2 separate regions of the Homo sapiens genome follow, and region 2 is linked to region 1. Evidence: promoter capture Hi-C in human tissues and cell types (Jung and others, 2019). All regions are on one chromosome and are shown on one strand. The core of a region is centred on a gene start or on the middle of the fragment in contact, and the rest is flanking DNA. Distances in the headings are between cores, read along the strand shown. Region 1 holds the start of PPARD (peroxisome proliferator activated receptor delta). Region 2 overlaps FKBP5 (FKBP prolyl isomerase 5).

The links. The method cuts DNA at HindIII sites, captures the fragments that hold promoters and counts their contacts. A contact is called where the count stands out against the background at its distance.
Region 2: a fragment that was not itself captured here is called in contact with the fragment with the promoter of PPARD in region 1 in 1 of the 25 tissues and cell types used here (liver).

Annotation. Positions count from the first base shown.
Region 1 is chr6:35,341,308-35,346,541 of GRCh38, forward strand. It overlaps PPARD (peroxisome proliferator activated receptor delta), which reads left to right and starts at 1,251. Exons shown (of 8, transcript NM_006238.5): 1 at 1,251-1,374. RefSeq lists silencers at 1,103-1,312, 1,493-1,632, 1,663-1,712. The HindIII fragment of the contact is 18,171 bases long and covers 1-5,234 here.
Region 2 is chr6:35,600,643-35,606,105 of GRCh38, forward strand. The region is part of intron 5 of FKBP5 (FKBP prolyl isomerase 5); the gene reads right to left. Among named protein-coding and RNA genes, the nearest start is that of LINC03135, 60 kb to the left of the region's middle. RefSeq lists an enhancer at 550-1,055 and a silencer at 1,730-2,024. The HindIII fragment of the contact is 9,658 bases long and covers 1-5,463 here.

The DNA.
Region 1 (5,234 bases), core at 1-2,500:
GGAGGTTGACATCTAAGTTACAAATATAATGCACAAGCATTTCAAAAAGTAGGGGAAAAAAAAGAAAAAGAAAAAGAGAAGCAGAAAGAAGGGGGAAAAAATCACTCATCCCTGCCAGGCACGGTGGCTCACGCCTGTAATTCCAGCACTTTGGGAGGCTAAGGTGGGAGGATAACTTGAGTCCAGGAGTTCAAGACCAGCCTGGGCAACATGGCAAAACCCTGTCTCTACTAAAATTACAATAATTAGCTGGGCGTGTGGCGCATGCCTGTAATCCCAGCTACTTGGGAGGTTGAGGCAGGATAATCGCTTGAACCCGGGAGGCGGAGGTTGCAGCGGGCTGAGATTGCGCAACTGCACTCCAGCAGGGGCGACAGAGTGAAACTGTGTCTCAAAAAAAAAAAAAAAAAAAAAAATCACTCATCCAGATAGCTAGGTGTGGCCTAAGGAGCTTGCGGCCTACGGAAGGTGTGGCCGAAGGAGAGGGGAGGGGTCATCTTTAATGATGATGGAGGGGAGGCATTGGTCATATACCTGAGAGTCAAGCTTTGTTCATCGTCAGATGAAAGCCAACTTCTTCCACCAGATTGCCTCCCAGCTGCTAGGTAGTTTCCTGTGGTACATCTTAAGCGGTAGGTTGGGATAATAGGTCCCTTCCAGGTCTTAAAGATGTGGATTAATAAGAACAGAATTTTCTACAACAATAAGGAGGATGTCCCCTATTTTAGGTGAATAAGCGTATTGCATAAGCACATGGGAAGAAAGGTTAAGAACTCTAAGACCGTAAATTTCCAGTTGTAGAAGCCTCTTGAAGGCGGAAAGCCCTTTTTTGAAAATTATAGGCGATATGATCTCCTCCAGTGGACCTAGCACTGGGTTAAGAGTCTCTCCAGACTTGTCACTGCAAGTCACGTACCTTTTCTAGGACTAAGTTTCTTCACTGGAAGATGAGGAGGTTGCACTAGATGACCTAGAAATTCCCTTCCAGCTTTAAATTCCCTCTTGTGTCACTTGCTGGACTTGTTCTACTGGACCTGGCGCTCCCCTGCTCCTCCCTTAGCTGCTACGTCCGCATCCCGCACCAGAGGGCGCCACAGGCTGGCCCGGGGCAGCGTGCGGTGGGCGGAGAGGCAGAATTAGGGGAGTCTCCAGGAGGCGTGGTGATTGGCCGCCGCCGGGCGGAAGGGGGCGTGGGGAGGGAAAGGCCGAGCAGCGCGGTGACGTCTCGCTGGCGGGGGCGGGGCCGGGCCGCGGAGCGTGTGACGCTGCGGCCGCCGCGGACCTGGGGATTAATGGGAAAAGTTTTGGCAGGAGCGGGAGAATTCTGCGGAGCCTGCGGGACGGCGGCGGTGGCGCCGTAGGCAGCCGGGACAGGTCAGTCCGAGACGAGAGAAGCGGTCAGGCAAGTGGCGGAGGGAAGCGCCGGGCCTGGGCCGAGGCGGCCAGCGGGACTGGGGCGCAAGGCCCGGCGGCGGGGAACGGGGTGCGGGGAGCTGCCGGGGTCCGCGGACAGCGTCACGGCGGCTTCCTGATGCTCCGGCCCGCTCCGGTCAGCCGTCGTGCGTTGCCATGTAGGCGCCCCGCTGACCCTGCGCCCCCCCGCCCTTGGACCCCCATAGCTGCTTGAGTGAGTCCGAAATACGGGCCTCCTTCCACCCTACTCTTTGCCCCCTCTTGGGCCTGGTGGCTTCGTCTTCTCCCACTTGTGAGAACCCCGTCTCAGGCCCGGGGGCCTCTCCCATTCCCCTCCCCTGCCTCTGACCTCTTCCTTCACCCGTTTCTGGTGTTCCTGAATCCACTGCCCTATCTAGCGAGAGTCTTCTCTGGGATCTTTTCCTCTGTCCCCCTCGTTATCCTTGTCTCCTGCCTTCATCCTCCCATCCTTGCTCTCTCAGGCTTTACTCTCTCTCCCCATCCCTGTCCCCTTCTTATCTGTGGTCTGATCCCTCCTAGTATTATGGGTCCCCATCCTCTTCCCCAGGGTGTTCCTAGGCTTTTTCCAACTCCGTGCCTGCAGTCCCTGTCTCCCTAAGACTCTCACCTTGGTTCCCTGAGAGGCCCTGTTTTTGCTCCTTTTTCCGATTTCCTTCGTATCAATTCTGTCCCCTACATTCCTGTCGCCCACCTCCTTTTCTCTCCCTGTTCCTTTCCCCTGCTTCAGGGAGAAGCCTTAGCTCCACACTCTACTCTACTTTCACTTGACCTGCAGTTGACATAACCATGGGGTGGGGGTGGAGGTGTTCAGACCTTGATCGAATTAAGAGGCTGATTGACTAAAGGAAATAACAGATTGTGTGGGAGAATGTACGTGGGTGTTGCATCAGAGATGATGTCCAATTTGTAGGCCATTCTTCTTATCTCAGCTTTAATACTTCCCCTTTATGGGGCTGTTGACTTCCAGGAACCCTTGGGGGAGACGGCGCTGAGCTGGATGTGTGCCACGGGTAGCCGGAGGCTTTGTCCAATTCTTTTCCCCTTCCAGGAACCGGGGTTTTGTGTCTTTCCACTCTGGATGTGTGGAATACACTTATACCATGATACCCCAGCCTCTCTCTGCCCTCACTCCCACCCTCCACCCTGTGCTCCATCCGAAAGGACTAAGAGAATTCTCCAGAAGCTGTGCTCCAGAAAATACTTGTGGTCCTCAACCTTTTTTCTGTGTACTGGCTCCAGAACTTTTTTTTTTCCCGTTTGAGTTTTGAAATAGATTGCTGGCCTGATAGCCCTGGGGCTGGCGGGCATCTGTCCCCTTTTATTATTGGTGGCTTGAAACAGCTGCTGATTTTCTCTCATATCTCTTTGACAATCTTTGGCCAACTGAATGTGCCTCTGATGTTGGTCACTGAACATGTTCTCTTGGAGTCTCTTCTCCCTCTTTTTTCTTTGTTCTTTTCTGAATCTAGGGAATCCAAATTGTCCCTCTTTTTCCCTGGGAGCTTAATTTCCTCTGTATCCAGGAGGAACGGCAATCCCAGAGCTCTGTTCCCTTTGCCCAGGCATAGTATGAGGTATCAGATTGATAACTACCCTGGTGGGCTGTGGGGCTGCAGTAGTTAGACCTTGTCAGGAACTTGAGCAGACACATCTGCTTCCAGTCACATAGATCATCTTCTCTGGGGCTTGAGAGCCCACCACCTTCCATGTGTGTCTGGATGTTTAACCTTACCAAGCAGAAGATTCTCGTCATATCCTTCAGTTTGAGCTCCTTTATTTGGCGTTGGTTCTCTAAAGAAGTATTCAAGAAATAACATATCCTTTGTTTCTACCCAGTCTGATCTTGGAGGATTCTGAAAGCGTGACCCACTCTCATGTTTAGAAATGAAGGCTCATTGTTTCACCTGGCCCCAGGTTTCTAGGGGCTCCTCTTTTGATGATTGTGCTGTCTTTGAGCCAGATTGGACATGGGAGTTGGCAACCTTTAGGAGCTGCGGTGGAGAGCCAAAGGAACCAGCTTGACCAGACTTTAAAGTTTTGTAATCCTCTTGTACACTGTTTTCTGTGAAAGCAATAGGATTGTGGATGGCCTGTTGTTGAGCCAGTCCCTTCTCCACTGACCCCCAGACCCCCTTTGCAGCACTTGCAAAGATTTGGGTAGACTGGACCAGAGGGTTTTCCTTGTTCCTGTGAATAGCATCTCTCCAGGGTTTTAGTGGATCATTCTAAAGAGGTAGAGGTCAAGTGTTGGACAGATTTTTAGTCTAGTCTCTGGCTTTCAAGGACTCCTCCTTACTCTTTTGAGCAGTTTGTTACTTCTGGCCGTGCTTACCCCTTAGTAGTGCTCTCTGCTGTGGTGGCAGGTGAGAGATTTGAGAACAGGTCAAGGCCAGTCCTTGTGGAGCAGCTTGGGCACCAGCAGCCCTAGATGGATAGCTTCTTGCAGTTTGTCCACTCTCATTTTCTGAGAAGGTAGTCATGATTGTCAATTACCAAATTCCTTCCCCATTCAGTGATTTTTGCAGAGTCTGGGTCTGGATTTTCTTTCCTTCTTTCTTTTCTGACACAAGGTTTTGTTCTATTGCCCAGGCTGGAGTGCAGTGGTGCTATCATAGTGCACTGTAACCTCGAACTCCTGGGCTCAAGGGATCTTCCTGCTTCAGCCTCCAGAGTAGCGGGGACTACAGGTGCACACCACCACACTCAGCTAATTAAAAAACAATTTTTTTGTAAAGACAGGCTCTCACAATGTCTCGAACTCCTGGCCTCAAGCAGTCCTCCTCACCTTGGCCTCTCAGAGCACTGAGATTACACTGACTGCTCGTTCAGGTGCCTTTCTCCTTGCCTCTTCACCATGGCCTTCTTGTGTGATATATGCCTTAACCCATTCAGGAAGAATTGCTCCTACTCAGCCTTTCAACCCGACCTGTGGTCCCTTAGACGCCTTCCCTTAGGGCCTGGTAAGAGGATAGACAGTGTAGAGCACTAGCCTGGGAAGCCATTAGGCCTCTGCTTTGGGCCTACAGCTGTCCTGACTGTTGTGCAAGCTGTCTTCAGGGCCTGCAGATTCTGGCACATCCTGGGATAGTGCAGCTCCTCTCTCTCAGGAGTTGGACCTGTCACTTTTTTTTCGTTTTTTTTTTTTTTTTTTTTGAGATGGAGTCTCGCTCTGTCGCCCAGGCTGGAGTGCAGTGGTGCGATCTTGGCTCACTGCAAGCTCCATCTCCCAGGTTCACGCCATTCTTCTGCCTCAGCCTCCTGAGTAGCTGGGACTACAGGCGCCCGCCACCACGCCTGGCTCATTTTTTTTTGTAGTTTTAGTAGAGACAGGGTTTCACCGTGTTAGTCGAGATGGTCTCGATTTCCTGACCTCGTGATCTGCCCGCCTCAGCCTCCCAAAGTGCTGGGATTACAGGCGTGAGCCACCACAACCAGCCTGGACCTGTCACTTCTAAGGGCTTCAGCTATATCCTGTCCCTGAGGCCCACCTCCCTGAGTGCTCTCTGCAGGCTGGGAAGCTGAACAGTGGTGCCTTGCTCCAGTGCCTCTGAAGGGCTTGGAAATTGCAGGACACAGCTTTACTGCTCAGCATTGCCCACACTGGAAACATTCTCTTCCTCCCTACCCAGGTCTCTGTGGGCTTTGTCCGTTCTGCCAGGCCCTTGCTTATATGATGTCAGAAGCCCTGTGCCCGGTGCCATTGTCAATGCCATGTCCCAGATTACCTAATGGCTGCTTCTTGGAGATGGTTTGGTGTCCATGCACATTTTTCTCTGCCGTTGGAGCCAGGGTGAGGAGCT
Region 2 (5,463 bases), core at 2,697-5,196, 260 kb after region 1:
ACAGATTTTTTTTGTCTGAAGTTTATTGTTGGAAGTATCATCTTCCTCCCTTAAGGAGAGTACATTTAGTGGGGGAGGAAATTATCAGTACATTTGTTGTGGCTTTTGGTTGATCAAGTTTGAATGTTTTCAAAACAGGAAATCCAGAGACTCTGCAAGGATTCCTGCCTGTGCGTTAGTTTCCTAGGCTGTTTTTCAGCTTGATGTATGTACTTGATATTAAAATTAAATGAGTAATTTCAGAAGTTCTCTTTAGATGTGATAACCCATCATTAGTGAGGGAAAAAGATTGGCTACTAATAAACATGTTGGGAAAGATAAATGAAGTAACCATGCCAAAAAAAAGTCAAACTGTAACAAAGGCATAATTAAGAAAGCAAAACATTCATTGTAGCTAGTCTTCTCAGAGAGACAATAAATGACAGAACTAGTGTCTGATGCTGTAATAGGACAGTAAACATTTGTGATAGCTCTTATAAATATTTTCTACTTTACATGTGGACTAATCTTTTTTTTCCTGGTAAATCTAACCCTTCACAATTGGACCCTGCAGTACTATAAAATCTTAAACGGATATACATCCAGACATATACACCCCAGTTTATATAAAAAACCAAAACCATCGCCTTGTAATACTGACAACATTCGGAATGTCAGAGTAAAAGGAGGTATCACAGCCTCATGGTGAATACAGCCCATTGATTCTCTACATCTACAAGTAGCAAAGGGCATTGCTGGGTTAACTGGTTTCTAAACTTGGAACACTGATGTGAAAAGTTCTACGAGACTGCTGACAAGAACTCACACACCACTTGGAGCCACGGAAAGACTGCTGATTGCCACAGTAGGGGCCCTGATTGCAGTAACAGATGCAGATGAGCCTAGCTCCTATAGCTCCACTTATTCTTTTTAATGTTATCTTAAAAATTCCTACCAAAACAAAACAGAACAAAAACCATGGCAGCTCTGGCTGTGGAAGCCCTGTGGTTGCTTTTTGACCTGGCATCTTTTAGTGCAAATACTAACTTAATAAATATTTAATAATAACCATCGTGACTCACTGGGAGTGCAGCCTGTAGGGCTCAGGAGGTCTGTTGCTAATCCCAACCAGCATGATTTACGGGAAGTAAATCATCTATGACATGCCCAAAGAGAATAAAAGTACATACAGGATGCTTCTACTTAGGGCTTTTTTGGTAGAGAAAGAAATAAACAAGTTAAAAAGAGACAACATTTTTTTCTTGACTTAAAGACTATGTAACTTAAAGGGGGAGGGAGGTCCTCCAAATCCCCACAAAGTCAAACCAAACCAAATTACCCAAGCTTAGCTGCGCAATCGGAGTGTAACCACATCAAGCGAGCTGCAAAACATCACTTAAACTGGAGCTCTGACTTATTGTTCTCTTACTGCCCTAGAGCAATTTTGTTTTGAAGAGCACAGAACACCCTGTTCTGAATGTGGCTGGCACATGAACTCGATGTGCTGACAGCAATTTGTACTCCGATTAAAATAGGGGGGAAAAAAGGAAAGAGAGTGCACAGCAGTAACAAAAATGAAATGCAAGAACCCCTAAACCATGCAATTTGTATTTTAGGAAGCAAAACTGAGAAAGAGGCTCCATAACTTAAAAAACAAAAAACAAAAAGCTGTAAATGCTCCAGCCTAAAGACATTAGCTCTGGTAAGTGTCTATTTTTCCCTTTTCTAATTATAGTAGTTGGTGTCTGATAGCTTTGCACTCATTCTCAAAACAATTACTGGGTCATGAGGATCTGAATGGGAATGTTGTAATGGCATTACTACTCGACAAGACTGGTTATCTGGCCAGAGAAAACCAGGTTGTGACAGGTTACTCCCACTGAGCAAGAGTTTTCTCTGTTGCCTAATTCATGCCAAGTGAGCTTCTTTCTGCCTGTGTCTCCTGCCTAATAGAGCACAGTATCCAAGAGAGTAGGATCTTAATAACCCCCTGAAAAAGCAAGCAGAGATGGCTTTCTAAAAGCAGGAGAACAAGAGAAATACTTCCAACACGCATGGTGGTCAGATTTCCCCTAAGCTGTCCGCCTTCCTCCTCTGCACTGTTTTGTACTACTTAGGATGAACACACACCACTGTAAGATTGCTTACAGAACTGACGGACAGATGCTAACAGGCGTGGAACCTGGCTCCTGGAACTGAATAACATTTATGCAAATGATTTCTTTTGGTTGATCAAGTTTGAATGTTTTCAAAACAGGAAATCTAAACAAGAAGTATACACCCAGCAACAAATTCTCCATGAACACCAACCCTTACCAGTCTTCCCTTCACACCACTATAGCACTTGAGTTAGACCTGGATTCCAGTCCCATTCTGCCACTTCAATTATGACTTTGGGCAAGGTAATTAAAGTGATCTGAAGCTCAGTTTCTTCACTGATAGAATGTGGATAATACACTAGCTAAATGATAATTGTTGAGAGGATTAAATTAGATACTGAATTAGAGCTTTTAATCTAGCACCTGATATTCATTCATTCATTCATTCATATGTCAGGGTGTCTATCATGTGAAAATGCTGTTGTTAAGTGTGGATATACAGAGACAAACTAAAGGAATGTTAGCTATAATTATTTTCCTGTGCCTAGTGGTAAATTATACCAGATTAAACATGTTTTAGAGCTCTGTGTAAGAAAACATTTACTGGTTCAACACAGAAAGCTGTCAAAGTATGAATAAAATTCTTAGTAGGCAAAGGCAGTATCTTGTACTTCTTTTGTGCCTCACAGTACCCAGCACAGAGTTCAGGGCCAGCAAGTAAATATTTATTTAATGACTAATCTTAAAATAGGGCATTAAGGACAGGGTGGTAATTTTCACTAATTTATACAAATTTTCCTTTTTGAATCTATTAGTATTCCTATTTTAATAAATTCTAGGAAGCTATACAAATTTTATATTGATATGGAAACTTTGTTTTTTAATACTATTCTAAAATAAATGGCCAATTGGCTGGAATTTTTTTTTTTTTTGTAACAACAACAACAGCAGCAGCAGCAACAAAAGACTGTTTTCTTTCTTTTTTTGAGACAGAGTCTCGTTCTGTTGCCCAGGCTGGAGTGTAGTGGCGTGATCTTGCCTCACTACAACCTTCACTTACTGCAACCATCTGCCTCCCGAGTTCAAGGACTTCTTGTGCCTCAGACTCCCAAGTAGCTGGGACTACAGGCCCGCACCACCATGCCCAGCTAATTTTTGTGTTTTTAGTAGAGATGGGGTTTCGCCATGTTGGCCAGGCTGGTCTTGAACTCCCGACCTCAAGTGATCCTCCAGCCTTGGCCTCCCAGAGTGCTGGGATTACAGGTGTGAGCCACCGTGCCCGGCCTCTTTATTGTTTTTGTTTTGAGTTGGGGGTCTCACTTTGTTGCCCAGCCTGGAGTGCAGTGGTGTGATCATGGCTCACTGCAGCCTCACACTCCTGGACTCAAGCTACTCTCCTTCCTCAGCCTCCCTAGTAGCTGGGACTACAGGCACACACCACCACGCCTGGCTATTTTGTTGTTGTTGTTGTTAAGAATGGGGTCTCACCATGTTGCCAGGCTGGTCTTGTACTCCTGGCCTCAAGCAACCCTCCCACCTTGGCTTCCCGAAGTGTTGGGATTACAAGCGTGAGCCACCATGGCTGGCCAGAAAGACTTATTTTCTACTATGATTTTATTCTACCTGAAGACTTGAAGATAACTTTTTGGAAGAAAGAAATTATATAAATCCAAAATATTTGAAAGAATAAACACTGGCCACTTTAGACCAAGTACCATATTACATTATTTTGTGAAAACATATAATAAAATGGTTTCAAGAATTTGCTCCTATTCCTAGACTTATATCCCAGGACATTCATAAATACTTCAAAAGCATATGAAAAACAAAAATGTAAAGTCTCACAGCTCCATCAGATCTCAATATGGGCAGACGTAATCTTTCCTCTATTTTCAATTTTTGGTACCTTTTTGATTTTAGTGTTTCATTTATAAAGAACACATAGCTAGATACTGTTGTTGTTCTCACTTTATGAGACCTTTTGCCTTTAATAGGTGACTTTATCCCATTCATATTTTTTGTAATCACTGATATGAGTGGTTTTATTCTTGTCTTTGGTTTTCTACACAGTGTTTTCTTTTTTTTTTTGAGATGGAGTCTCGCTCTGTTGCCCAGGCTGGAGTGCAGTGGTGTGATCTCGGCTCACTACAACCTCCACCTCCCGGGTTCACGCCATTCTCCTGCCTCCCAAGTAGCTGGGACTACAGGCGCCCGCCACCATGCCCAGCTAATTTTTTGTATTTTTAGTAGAGATGGGGTTTCACCATGTTAGCCAGGATGGTCTCGATTCCTGACCTCGTGATCCACGTGCCTCGGCCTCCCAAAGTGCTGGGATTACAGGCGTGAGCCACCGTGCCCGGCCCGTGTTTTCTTATTTTTTAAAACAATTTTTGCTCAATTGATGAAGTTTTCCTTGTTCCTCTATTTCCCCACTCCACATGGGGTGATTTGGAAATTCTACATGCTATTCTTACTAGTACTTTCCATTAAAGTCTGAACAAATCATTTAAAGATATATATATATACCTCTTTATCAATGTTCAGAATCAATCAGCATAAAGCATTCAATAAAATCCAACATCCCTTCATTATAAAAAACCCTCAATAAACTAAGCATCAAAGGAACATACTTCAAAATAATAAGAGCCACCTATGACAATATCTTTTTTTTTTTTTTTTTTTTTTTTTTTTTTGAGACAAGGTCTTATTCCATTGCCCAGGCTGGAGTGCAGTGGTGCAACCATAACTCACCGAAGCCTGTATCACCCAGGCTCAAGTGATCCTCCTGCATCAGCCTCCCAAGTAAGCTGGGACTACAGGTGCATGCCACTATGTGTGGCTAATTTTTTTTATTTTTAGTAGAGACAAGGTTTCACTATGCTGCCCAGGCTGGTCTTGAACTCCTAGGCTCATGCAATCCTCCTGCCTCGGCCTTCCAAAGTCTTGGGATTACAGGTGTGAACCACTGCACCCAGCCGTCAATATCATACTGAACGGGCAAAAGTTGGAAGCATTCCGCCTAAGAACTGGAAAAAAACAGGGTGTCCACTCTTAACAACTCCTATTCAGCATGGTACTGAGCCACAGCAATCAGTATGCGGCAAGTCCTAGCCTGAGCAATCAGGCAAGAGAAAGAAATAAAAGGCATCCAAATAGGAAACCAGACGTCTACCTCTCACCATATACAAAAACAAACTCAAGATGGATTAAAGGCTTAAATGTAAGGCCTGAAACTATATAAATCCTAGAAGAAAAGCTAGAAAATACTCTTCTGGACATTGCCTAGGCAAATAATTTATGATTAAGTCCCCAAAATCAAATGCAACAAAAAGAAAAACTGACAGTTGGGACCTAATTAAAGAGCTTCAGCACAGCAAAATAAGCT